Linked DNA regions of Homo sapiens: region 2 is linked to region 1. The links are contacts of gene promoters, found by promoter capture Hi-C in blood cells and fetal thymus (Javierre and others, 2016). All regions are on one chromosome and are shown on one strand. Each heading gives the region's core, a stretch centred on a gene start or on the middle of the fragment in contact. The rest is flanking DNA. Distances are from core to core; before and after follow the strand shown.

Evidence for each region. Contacts are between HindIII fragments. The CHiCAGO score rates a contact against its expected background, and 5 or more counts as called.
Region 2: a contact is called between a fragment that was not itself captured here and the fragment with the promoter of PKP1 in region 1, in 1 of 17 cell types (fetal thymus). The highest score is 5.1, in fetal thymus.

What each region holds. Positions count from the first base shown.
Region 1 is chr1:201,280,938-201,287,062 of GRCh38, reverse strand. PKP1 (plakophilin 1) reads right to left here and starts at 3,557. Exons shown (of 14, transcript NM_001005337.3): 1 at 3,159-3,557. The coding sequence starts at 3,360. RefSeq lists an enhancer at 3,187-3,716. The HindIII fragment of the contact is 6,778 bases long and covers 1-4,488 here.
Region 2 is chr1:201,413,785-201,419,909 of GRCh38, reverse strand. It overlaps TNNI1 (troponin I1, slow skeletal type), which reads left to right. Exons shown (of 9, transcript NM_003281.4): 2 at 2,098-2,127; 3 at 2,791-2,794; 4 at 4,656-4,697; 5 at 5,261-5,392. The coding sequence starts at 2,117. Among named protein-coding and RNA genes, the nearest start is that of TNNI1, 4.9 kb to the left of the region's middle. The HindIII fragment of the contact is 214 bases long and covers 2,229-2,442 here.

The DNA of each region.
Region 1 (6,125 bases), core at 2,308-4,807:
TGGTGTTGTTAGGACTTCCCTGGAAGGAGACAGGACAGGTGAAAGGAAGCTCCTTTCACTGAGCTGGGTGTGATCTGTATTCACAGTGGCGGGGGAGCGCTTGGGTTAGGGCAAGTGAGATTCAGGTTCAGCTTTAGGAAGAGATTCCAAGTGAAGTTATAAAGATCTGGAAGGTGGATAAGTGTTTCCTTCCCCATCCTCAGGGAGGTCATTTCCCTGGCAAAGATCTTTTGCTGGGTGGTGACATCCCCCTCAGTTTCCCCTTGCCTTCCACACAGTCTGGGAAGAAAAGGAGGCCAGACACCCTGAGGCACACAGGGACAGCCTGAAAACACAGGGGAGCAATACTTCAGGGGCAGTTCAAGATGGGTAGGCAGGTTCAGAGCAACCTCCTTCTGCAAGGTCTCCAGGCCACAGAAGCCACCTTCTTCCTGCCCGGGGCCTTCATGACCAGGGCAAGGTGCTTGTCTGATCTGTGGCATTTCAGGGAGAGCATGAGTGCAGACAGGCATTTTGTGACAGGCTCCAGGGGCCCTTCCTCCAGTCCTCAGTGGCTCAATACTCCCTCAGTGACAAGAGAGAAAAGAGCACTAGTGGAGAGGAACTGAGAAGCCACTTCTATCACAGGACCAAGGATGGCTGGTCCTGACTGTCCTTCCTGGGGTACAAGGAGCAGTGGCTACTCTTCCAGGCAACCTGTGGGGTATGGTTGGCCCTTCTTAACTAGGGAAACTTTGGATGGGATTCAAGGGGCTCAAGAAGACCCTAGGTAAACTGACTCTGCTCTTGGAAGAGACTAAACAAGAACCTGAATCTGTCCAGGGGGCGAGGGAAAACGCCTGGGGCATGGTCCTTCCACAGCTACCAGCTCATTCCATTCCAGGAACCAAAGCAGGCTCCTGACAGGTAAACCAGCATAAGAAAGAGGGAGCAGAGTGAGTAGAGGTGGCCGCAGAGCAAATAGGGGACGTTTGGGTGTTTCTGATGGAGAAGACAAGGAAATCTGATGAAAACTAAGCCAGATAAACCAGAAACACCAGCTCCAAGTGACCAAACCGCCTCTTCCAGCAAGGATGCCTCTGCAGCCTCCTTTAGGAACCTCCGCAGAGTCTGAGGGTAGAGGGGACACGCCCACAGGGCTAGACCTTGGAGTTTCTGGAGAGGTAGCCATCAGCATCAACCCTCCCCCAGTGAAGCCCCCTGGGGGACCTTGGGAGGAAAAACAAAGAGGGAACAAAGGAGACCTTATCAGATAGAAGTTCCCCACAAAGACCAAGCCCAGAAAGTGCACTTCTTGCTGACAGACACTCAGCCAATATCCCGATAGGTAGGAGGAAAAAGGGGTCCTTGGGGCACCCAGGGCCGGTTTGAGTTTTCTGGAGTTGTGAGCCAAGAGCTCAGGCTGGGATGGAGTGGGAGTGGGAAGGGGACAGCCAAGTCTTGTGCAGAGAGGAGAGTAGGTTGAGCTGTGCTCTGGGCTGTAGCCAGAAATGGGGGCACTTTGTTATTCCAAACCTAATTCTAAAGAGGCTAGGAGGCACCTACCAAGGCACCAAATAAAAGGGAAGGAGGCAAGTGCTCTGGAGGTGGCATGATCTTGAGTGGAAATGTGACGAGAGGAGCCTGGAGCCCACACAAAGGCAAAGAGCACACAGAGAAGCAAAGGCCTTTAGGTCTGGGGCCCAGGAAGTCCTCTGCCGGCCATTTTCCTTCCCTCGGCTCTACAAGGGGCCACTCAGGAATGGGGGCTAGGGAGTAGGTGGGGGGACAGAAGCCACAGGTAGAAGGAAGTGTGAGGTGTGTGTGTGTGTGTGTGTGTGTGTGTGTGTGTGTGTGTGTGTGGTGGAAGGGCCAGGGTCGGTTTCTTTTGTCTCCTTCCACCTTATTACCCCCTGCCCCTCACTCTCTCCTAAGGCCTGTCTTAATACATAAGTCTTGGTTGACCTGTACTGTTTGGTAATGGGTAAAGTCTTATTAGCATTTTACTAAACTTAGCTAAATAAAATAAGTAAATAAATAAACAAGTGGAATCTTTGCTCACTTGTGTGTAATTCTTACCAGGCATCCTTTGTATCAAAGTGTTTACTTGGTCTATAAGCTCTCCCCTGTCAGGTACTGCCCCTTCCTCCTTGAGTTTCCTGGGTGCTGCCCCTTTCTCCCAGGTTCCCCCAGTCATGGGATCTGGCCTCTCAGAGGCTGGAGGAGGGGGTGCCAGGCCCGGGATCCAGCTTGGAAAAGTGCCCGTGAGGGTTCAGCTGGAGGTCTCCCTGGGGCCCGGGGGGATTTCCAACCTGCCATTCCGTACTCTCCCCATGAGACACTTGTTTCTACCTAAGCTGGGTGGGGTAAGAAGAATCCAGTGGGAAAGAGGATTTCTGCATTGGCTATTCGGGAAAGAAAGCATCCCTGACCCCCTTCCCTGTCGTCAAGGGACCCACTGGCCCTGGGGCGGCCTTCCAACTAGGCTAGCCTCTTTCAGGAGGCTCTCGATAAAGTGCCCTGGAGTTCCAGGCCCTCGTCCCTGCTCCCTGTGCCACTTTCCCGTCCCGCAGCGCCTCTCCTGAGCTGCACTCCTGTCTCAGCGACTCCCTCACCCCGCTCGCGGATACTCATGCGCGGCCCCACAGGGACTGGGGTTCCCCTTGGCCTGGACGCTGGGCATCGGCCTCCAGCTGAAGGCCAGGAGATCAAGCCCAGGAAGGGTGAAGGGTGGCCCACAACCGTTTGCGAGCGCGGGGACCATGGGCCCCAGGACAGCCGGGGCCAGACAGGATGCAGGGCAGATCCCTAGAGCAGCATCCGAAAGAGAAAGCCGTCCAGACCCAGGGCTCAGGGACAGGAGAACCGCTCGCGGGGGATCCTCAACCTCCTGGCACGCTGGGACATGCTCCTGGCTGTGTCCCGGTGAATCACCCATCCTTGCCCACTAGCGCGCCATCGAGCTCGCGGGGCCGTCGAGCCAGCCTCGGGTCGCGTTTACACCAGCTCAGAACCGGCTGGGAGCTCGGCTGCTCGCACTAGGTGCGTAGACCCTGCCTGGGGCCGGCAGCCCCTCGCCTCCCCTCATCCCCGGGGATGCGTGCGTCTCTTGGTCCCCGCCACTGGGCCAGGGTGCTCTGGAAAGGGGCGCACGGACCACGCGGGGGCCGAGCCTTTACCTCGATTGGAGTGGCTCAGGGTGGACGACTGGGAAGACTTGGACTTCTGCCGCTTGACGGTCATCATCACCTGCTCCTGCACGCGCTGCCTGCCAGACGTGCCTGTTTTCATCTTTTGGTCCGACGGCAAAGCCAACGTGGAGTTGTCCTGGTCCTGGAAGCATTCGTACGCCAAGGCGGTCTTGAGCGGCGAGTGGTTCATGGTGGCGGGAGGCGGGTGGCGCGCGGCCGGGGCCTAGGAGAGCAGAGAGGCGAGGCGAGGTGCGGTGCAGCGGGCGGGCAGGAGCGTGCTCTTCTCGCTCTCAGCGGCTCCCTACGGCCATAGAGTGCGTGGTCCGCGTGAGGGCTCCCTGCAGCTGCTCCTGGCGCTTCCACCCTGGTTCGTCCCTCTCTGGCACTGGCGAGGCCCGCCCTCCGTCAGACAGGATATACCACCCCTGCCCTGCACCACCCACTCCACCGGGCCGCGCGCTGCTGCTGCTCAGACGCGGAGCTGCAGGGCACTGCTGCTGCGGAGCCAGCGCTCTTGGGGGCAGGGCTGCGAGTCCCCTGTGTGGGACGCTGGGCGCCTTCCTGCTCGCTCTTTTTTTTCTCTCCCTTCCCTCTCCCCATGAGCAAGAAACGTCGCAAGCCTTGAGGCCCCAGGGAGACGCCCCTCTGTCCTGTTCTGCCGGCTCACTGAGAAAGCATGTGCTCAGCTCAGGAACCGAGGGAGACCTCTCTCTAGGAAAGAAAGGAGTCTTTCTTGACCAGGCTGCCCAGGAGAGCCAGGCGTCCATCTCCCTCTGTACTGAGGTCATAGCAGAGACCAACCCCGGCGGTGGAGGCTCCCGGGCTGATGGCAGAACCATAGCTCTTGCTCCAAAGGAGTGCTCCATCTTATGGGGGTAACCCAGTCTACTCTAAAGGAGCTTCCTCTGAAGAAAGTGGGGTAGGGGCAGTAAGGCCACATCAAGGAGCAGACTTGGGATATCAGACCACACAGTGGGTATGCCTTGGTAAAACCGGTGGTTATTTGTTGTTCATGAGTATACCCCGGTAAAACACCACGTGAACAGCGGATCCTCTCTGAAACTCCACTATAACCTCTAAAACAATGCCTGGCACACATAATATTAGGCGCTTAATAAAAAATATTTTAAATAGGTGAATACGTGAATGCTAGTTAATTTAAGGTAAATTAAATCTAACTCGGATCCTAACCAGATCCTCACTGAAAAATTGAAAAGCTGCTTTACCCTGAAATTTCACTCTGGACTTATTATTCTGGGACCACTGTGTGCATTCCCCTATATACACTCACCCCTGGGGACACATGTGCAGTGAAGCTTTATTCATGTAGCATCCTCTCCAGGCGTGGAGGGAGCCCACATCAGTGAATTTGGTGTGTAACAGGAGCTGAGTGTTTTTTTTTTTTTTTAAGTATTTACTTTGATGGAAATCTTTCTAAAAGGTATCGCATTCTGTTTGCCTCCTAAAGCAAACAACACTGAACATATTTGCTGTACTTCTTGATGCCCTGGGTTTCTCATTCTGGACATCCATTACTGAACTGTGTAGTCGTGCTGTCCGGTCAGTTTCTTAGTTTTGGGGCCTCCACCAGTGTGTGACACTATCACAGCCGTCACTCTTGCTGTCATTTGAGGCTGCCGCTCACAGCTCACATATTTTACTTTTAGTTTGCTCTTCTAATCTACAGAGGAAAGGACAATCAGAAATCTATTCTTTTTGGGAATTTTATGTCGAGGAAGGATCAAGAAGACTGAATGACTGTCTCAGGGACCATGTACATGAAGGTCACTCACGCAACTCCTGAGATGTGGGTGTTACATGCGGGGAGCCCCAGCTTTCCCAAGGAAGGTATTCCTAGTAGCAATTTGCAGAGCAGATTATTGTAAAGCAGATTATAGTTTCCAATAGAAACAGTTTTATTATTGAGGGCGCTGTTCCTAAGAACTTAACCTCAAGTAAACCAGAGATGTGATAAAAAATATGTCATAGATGTGTACAAAATACCTGTAAACCTCTATTATCACTTCATATTGTAAGATTCTGCCTCTAGCCATAGACCGCCAGGACTGGACAGAGCCTTGGACTTCATCCAGCCAAGCACTGCATTTCACTGATTAGGAGAGGAGGTAGCTTGCTTGCAATGCCCCAGTTAATATGTGGCAAAGCCTGCATCCTAACCAGGCCTTGTGACTCCTGGCACAGTGCTCATTCCACCACATCATCCAGCTTCCCTTATAAAAGTCCTATAAAATGGACATTAAAGTACAGTGCACACCGATTATATAAGGGCCCCAATGTACTGTAAAGTATACACAGCAGCATATAAAAATACAATTCTATTGTATCACACATTTGGCCTATCTAAAACCTAATATGCTAGCCATAATAAATGTTAATTACATCTTTAAATAACGATAATTTTCCTATTCTAGGATATAGAAGGGCCCTGAAGGAGGGGATTAGAGTAGCTCATCTTCCTATAAAAGGCAAGTCCGTGGAAGCAGAACTGATTATCTTTAAAATTGTTTCCAGGTATGAAGTTCAGTTTTTCTAGCTACTTCTCTACTATGTTAATATTGACATTATTTTGACATATTGATAGCAATAGCATTTACTATGCTCCTCCAAACACCATGCCTACCAACCAGGCATTGTTCTGAGCCCTGTACACGAACCACATCATTTAAATCCTTACAATGACCCTATGAGGTGGGCACCATCACCCTTCTTTTTCAGATGAGGTAACTGAAGTTCCATGAGGCCACCCAGCTGGCAACAGGCAGACAAGGCAACTGCAATCCAGAGCTGGACACTCAGTGGCAGTGCCAGGCTGCCGCCTCGAGATTTCTCTGTGACAAGCAGATCCTTCTCTGGATAGGTATTTTAACAGCATCCATTCCCATCACAGGGCACGAAAGTCAGGCCAGCTGGGTTCCTGATCTAGTTGTGTCACTA
Region 2 (6,125 bases), core at 1,086-3,585, 130 kb before region 1:
ATAAAATCTAATACCAGCCAAGCATCTCAGGAATTCATGGATTGTCTCCATACCCCTCCCTCTGTGCCCCAGCATGACAGCTGAGACTCTGGGGTCACACTACACCTCCACCTCCTCCACCCCAGCCTTACCCTCCCCTGGTGGCGGAGGCAGAGGTGGAGGGAGGCCCAGAAGGCTTTCTGACCCGTTGGGAGATTCAGGGGAGGTGGCCAAAGCTGTGTTCATTGGGGTTGGGATAGTGCTTCATGGGCACAAAGGGAAAGGAGAGAATTAGGGCAGAGGAAGGGGTGGCTCTGGGATACAATTATTGGCAGGCACTTTACAAGTGTCTTTTAATTCCCCACTTCCCAGACCCCACAACAAGGTTCTTGAACCAAGTCCAAACTCCTGCCCCCGAGCTCCATGCCTGCCCACTCCACACACACTAGGCTCTCCCATCCTTCATTTCACAGCCTGGCTCAGGGCTCCTGTGCGCCCCTGCACACCTGCTCTCCACCTCAGCTGTCCCCTTCCTTTCCCTGAGCTTTTGCACAGTTCCTCCCTTCCCCTGCATTGGAATGCCCTGTGTCCAGGCCCAGGCAAGACGGTGAATTATGTCTGGTTTTGGAACATCTCCCTCTGCAGCCTCACGGACCCCCTCTTTGGCCTGGGCCCCAGGATCACCTGGTCAGGGGGCTTCAAATTGTATTCCACAGCCAAGTGTCCTCACAGAAGACCAGAGGGCTGCTATGGGAGCCCCCTTCAACCAGTGCCATTTGGCTCTTTTTGTTTGTTTGACTTTTTTTTAAGTTCGGGGTACATGTGCAGGATGTGTGGGTTCGTTACACAGGTAAACATGTGTCATGGAGGTTTGTTGTATCAATTATTTCATCACTCAGGTATGAGAGACGTACCCATTAGTTATTTTTCCTGATCCTCTCCCTCCTCCCACCCTCCACCTTCTGATAGGCAAAATGCCATTTTGCTTTTACTGATTGAATTTATTTTACTTCCAAGTAAGATTTGGTTAGGACAAAGGATTCAACCAAATAATATTAATTAAATATTATTTTAATTACTTATTATTAATAATAAACATCAAGAGGAAACTCACTGATTTAACCCCTAATTTTGCAGAGAGGAAAACCAACCCAGAGAGGGGAAAGACAGACTAGGGTGAACACGGGATTTGCCCTGCCTTGCGGCTTATTCTCTCCCACTCAAGGCCTCCCACTGCCCCACCCTGGAGGTGCCAGTTGCATTGCCATCTGTGGATGGAGTTGTGCCATGTGGCAGCTACCCGTTTTCCAGCATCCACTCTGCTCATTCACTTTCTAGGCCTTCCTCTCTCTGAGCCCTTCAATGACCACCCTTATTCCACAGGATAAAGTCTAAACTCAGCCTGTCCTTCAAGGCCCTCATGAGTGAGCTACACTCTCACTTATTTTTTTTTTTTTTTTTTTGAGAAGGAGACTCATTCTGTTACCCAGGCTGGAGTGCAGTGGTGCGATCTCGGCTCACTGTAACCTCCGCCTCCTGGGTTCAAGCAATTCTTCTGCCTCAGCCTCCTGAGTAGCTGGGACTATAGGCGTGCACCACCATGCTGGCTAATTTTTGTATCATTAGTAGAGACGGGGTTTGACCATATTGGCCAGGCTGGTCTTGAACTCCTTACCTCATGAACTGCCCGCCTTGGCCTCCCAAAGTGCTGGGATTACAGGCATGAGCCACTGCGCCCAGCTGCTCTCACTTTCCAAACATATTTCCTATGGACTCCATTCTGTTCTCCACTGGGATTGGCAAGCTTTATCTGGAAAGGGCCAGATAGCTTTGTAGCTCACATAAGGTTTCTGTTGCAAATTCTTAAAAAAAAAAAAAAAAAAAAAGCTTACAATTCTTTAAGCAAAAACAGGCTGGGAGCCAGGTCAGGCTTATGGGCTGTAGTTAGCTGACCCCTGCCCTGCAACCCTGTCCCATCTTGACCTGCTGGAATCCAATGTGTCTGATTTCTTCCTTTTGTGTTCTGACTCTGTCTCCTAGGCTGGGCTCCCAAGGCCCAGCTGGGCAGGGGCAGGGGTTTCCACTTTCCCTTATGAATGATTCCTCTGTGCCCCCTAGGTGCTGTCTCACTGCCACCATGCCGGAAGTGTAAGTAGTCTCACTGCCATCTGGGGCCCCAGGAAGGCAAGTCCCTTTGCCACAGACTTCAGCCCCGCAGTGGAGGCACCATGTTTTCAACCCCCAAAGCTTTTCCCTAAGAGACCAGGTCCTCAAACAGGGGCAGCACTTGATGGTTTCCCCTGTGCTGCCTGTGTCCTCCCAGCCATTGAGCAGAACTCACTCCCAGGTTGCCCTGGGAGTGCCTTTTTGGCTTGTGCCTCAGAGATTTCCTGTCTTGATCTATCACATGAATTGCATGTACCAGGCCACCACTTAACACTGGTGCAGTAGGTGAACAAAGCTTTGGGAATTTACCCACGCACCCGTGGATGGATGCTTTCACGTTGCTGGAACCCTACGCTAAGGCTTCCCTCCCCTTCCACCACTTGTCCCCAACTTACGATGCCCAGTACCTCCCAATAAGAATGCCCCGTAGTTCAAAGGGCTGTTGAATTTTTATTTTATTCTGCCGGAACCTCAAACCGCTCCCCTTGCCTGATGCCTGATGACTTTCTGGCTCACTGTTGTCACTGGCCCCCTCCTCCCCCAAGCTGGTCTGTGAGGTTCTGCGACTGCACATGTAATCCTCATTGTTCATACTCACTCTGTGTTCTGCTCTTTCCCCGTCCTTCCTGTGATGGATGCCTGAAGCGAGGTAAGTGATATTTGGGGTATCTCTGTCTTGGTTAACTCTAACGACTGGTAAAAGTGGGAAGGTGGGGTTGGCATCTGAGGAGAGGGAAGAGCCTGTGTTAAGGCCTGGTGGGAGTCCAGGGGGTGTAGGGTATTTAGTGGCTGAACAAATTCCCAGGAGATGGAAACGTCAGGTGAAGATTCTGGATGTGGGGCTTCCTAGTGTCCAGGGAGTTGCTGTGCCAGTGTACCATGTCACTGGAAGGACTGGTATTGCAGCAGGGTTGGGTGTGACTCTGCATCCTTGCTGAGCACAAGCTCTTCCTCACCCACTCTGAGAGCTGGTCCAGTCCTGGGGGGACCATCCTATTCCATGCAGAGCTGATCCTGTGCAAAGCTATATTGGAAGGGTAAGGGATAGTCATTGGGTTATTCCACCCTTGCCCAATGGCTGAACATTGATTGAGGAGCAAAGAGATGTCCTTAAATCCCTCAGGTGTTAGAAAACCCTGACACTGGCCATTCTATACACTCCAGACTTACCAGGCTACTGAGATCACAGCCTATGTACAGTCCAAGGATGGGGATGGCAGGGATAGGGATGTGGGCCCAGGGATGGAAACAGTGAGAATTAGCAGTATTGATGGAGGGGATATTTGGCACAGAGATTCTCAGTAAGAATTGAACATGTTACTTTTCAACATTCATATGAATTTTTAAGTTTTGCTGAGGCTCGTATTAAAGTGAGTCCTCACTGACTGATGGTCAAATGAGGTGGCCATCGGCTCACCAAGTGGTGGGGAAATAAGATCGCAGTCAAACATTTGCCATGTGTACATTACAGTGTGTAAACCATGGTAGTAATGCTTAGAGTCATAGGCTCTTTCTTTTGAAATTGCACTTATCTGAAATGTAACAAAAATCTTTAGGAGAGGAAAAGACAAACCAACCACTCTGAACAGTCAGAATAGAAGTTACACATTCCATTTGCTGAAACTCATCCATTGTCTCTCATGAGAACTTCCCTCTCAAAGCCTAATCACTTCTACTTGACACCCTGGAATAACATTTGAGAGCCATGCTCTGCCGGCTCACAGCACATTAAGTCTAGGTAGGATGCTTCCTGCTGGCAATGAGAAGTGACCGCCTATGGCCCAGAAGATACTCTAGTGCTCGAAAGGCATCACAGTCTCATTAGTTGGGGACCAAGCAGCCCTACTACTCACCTTTGCCAACCCTGAGGGACCACTGTCACAGGGCTAGGACTAGTAAGCAAGAACATGTTTAGGATTTTTGATAAGAAGATAAAACAGTGGTTTTATATCTTAGAAAGATTTGTATGGGTGGTGTTAACATTTTTAAAAGTTTTGAGGTCTACATAGATACGTTTCATTTATTTGGGAAATTCACAGCTTATTTATGCAGCATGACGGATCATCAAGGTATTGCTGTATTACTACCTGGAGTGTGAAAACACATAGCTTTTACGATTTTCAAAGGATTTGCACATCCATGATCTCATTTCATCTGCAATAACTCTGTGAACTAAGTAAGGGGGGGGGTCCTAATATCCTTATTTACAGATGAGGAAGGAGGTGCCTGTAGAAGCCATGTGGCCCTCATAGTATCTTACAAGATTTCAGCAGCAGCAGAATCAGAGTGGGAAGTTAAGGCTTCAGCCCCTAGGTCAAGGTAGCTGACTGCAGCCTTCTCTGAACTGCAGAGGTTAAATAACAAAGATGAGCTTTTAAGGCACCGTAGGGTGAGCAGAGGATTCCGGATAAAGATAGAGAACGCTGGCTGGCACTTGTCTTGTCCTAGACCAGAATTCCAGTTCTGCAGCCTCTGCCTCACCACCTGTCTCTCTCTCTTCTTGCCCACAGAGAAAACCCAAGATCACTGCCTCCCGCAAACTCTTGCTGAAGGTGAGGCTGGGGGCTGGCTGTGGGGGGATGCCCAGTGGGAGGCAGAGGGGCAGCAGAGCAGACTCTGAAGGGATGTGGAGGATTATGGCAAGGAGAAAGGAAGGAGGCCAGAGTGAGGATGATGAGGGGCAGGAGTCCAGCATTGCTGGAGCCAGTGCCAGGCTCAGGTGATCAGTAGGTGGGATCCTCGAGTATGGATTCTGGCATCCGCCTGTGGTCCCTAGAGTAGGTGGTGACCAGCTTCAGAGTGGGAAGCTACTCATGCAGGCAGAGGGACTTCCTTTATTTTCATATGTGTTTCTCTCTTTGGAGTTTTGTGGGTCAAAACAGACAGTAAGTGGATAAGAGGAAGACTGTCCGGGGAAAACAAGTTCCAGGGCTTGAGGAACATTGTGTGCAGCCACTGGGTGTACCCTCATGGTGGCCTGTCCATGGCTGCTGCATACACTTCTACACTGGACAGTGGTCTCAGAGTTGGCCCAGGCTGTGGCTGCCCTCCCCTCATTCCCTGATGCCGGGTGGGAGATGTGAGGCCCCCAGCTCAGCAGGTGTGTCCTGTCCAGAGCCTGATGCTGGCCAAGGCCAAGGAATGCTGGGAGCAGGAGCACGAGGAGCGCGAGGCTGAGAAGGTGCGCTACCTGGCAGAGCGCATCCCCACGCTGCAGACCCGTGGCCTGTCCCTCAGTGCCCTGCAGGTTAGCCTGGCAGGTGGGGCGGGGCAGGGTGGGGCTGGAGGTGCTGTGTGGGTGGCTCCAAGGACCAGGCGGCAGGAGCCTGAACTAACACCAGCTCAAGGCTCCATAATTTACAGGGCACTCCTCCCTTACATGGTCTCATTTAATCTTCACAACCACCTGTGAGGTGGGAACATTAGATTCCATTTTACGGGCACTGAACTGAGCATCAGAGGGGAGGCGTGACTTGCCTGGGCTGGGCGGCCCAGCTTCACAATCAGCCAGTGTGGTGGCATGGAGTGGGGAGGCGGCCGGGGTTGGGAGAAGCCCCACTTTTCCAAGGACTTGTCTACCCTTTCCTAGAATTTGGTCTTCAATGTTTTCAGAACACTGGTAAATTGGTTAAATGCCAGTGATTATAGAGAAAAGAGACTGGAAGGAAGTATATCAAAATGTTACTAAGTATCCCTGGGTGGTGGCATCACTAGGTATTTTAATTTTTATTATTTTTGTTTAATACATAGTTTTCAAAATGTCTAAAATTAACGCATTACTTTTATCATAAGAAAACTATTTTATTTTGCTGGGCACAGTGGCTCATGCCTGTAATCCCAGCATTTTGAAAGGCGGAGGCAGGAGGATTACTTGAACCCAGGAGTTCGAGACCAGCCTGGGCAACATAGTGTGAGACCTTTTCTTTATACAAAGTTTAAAAAAATGAGATGGGAGGGTCACTTGAGCCCAGGAGGTTGAG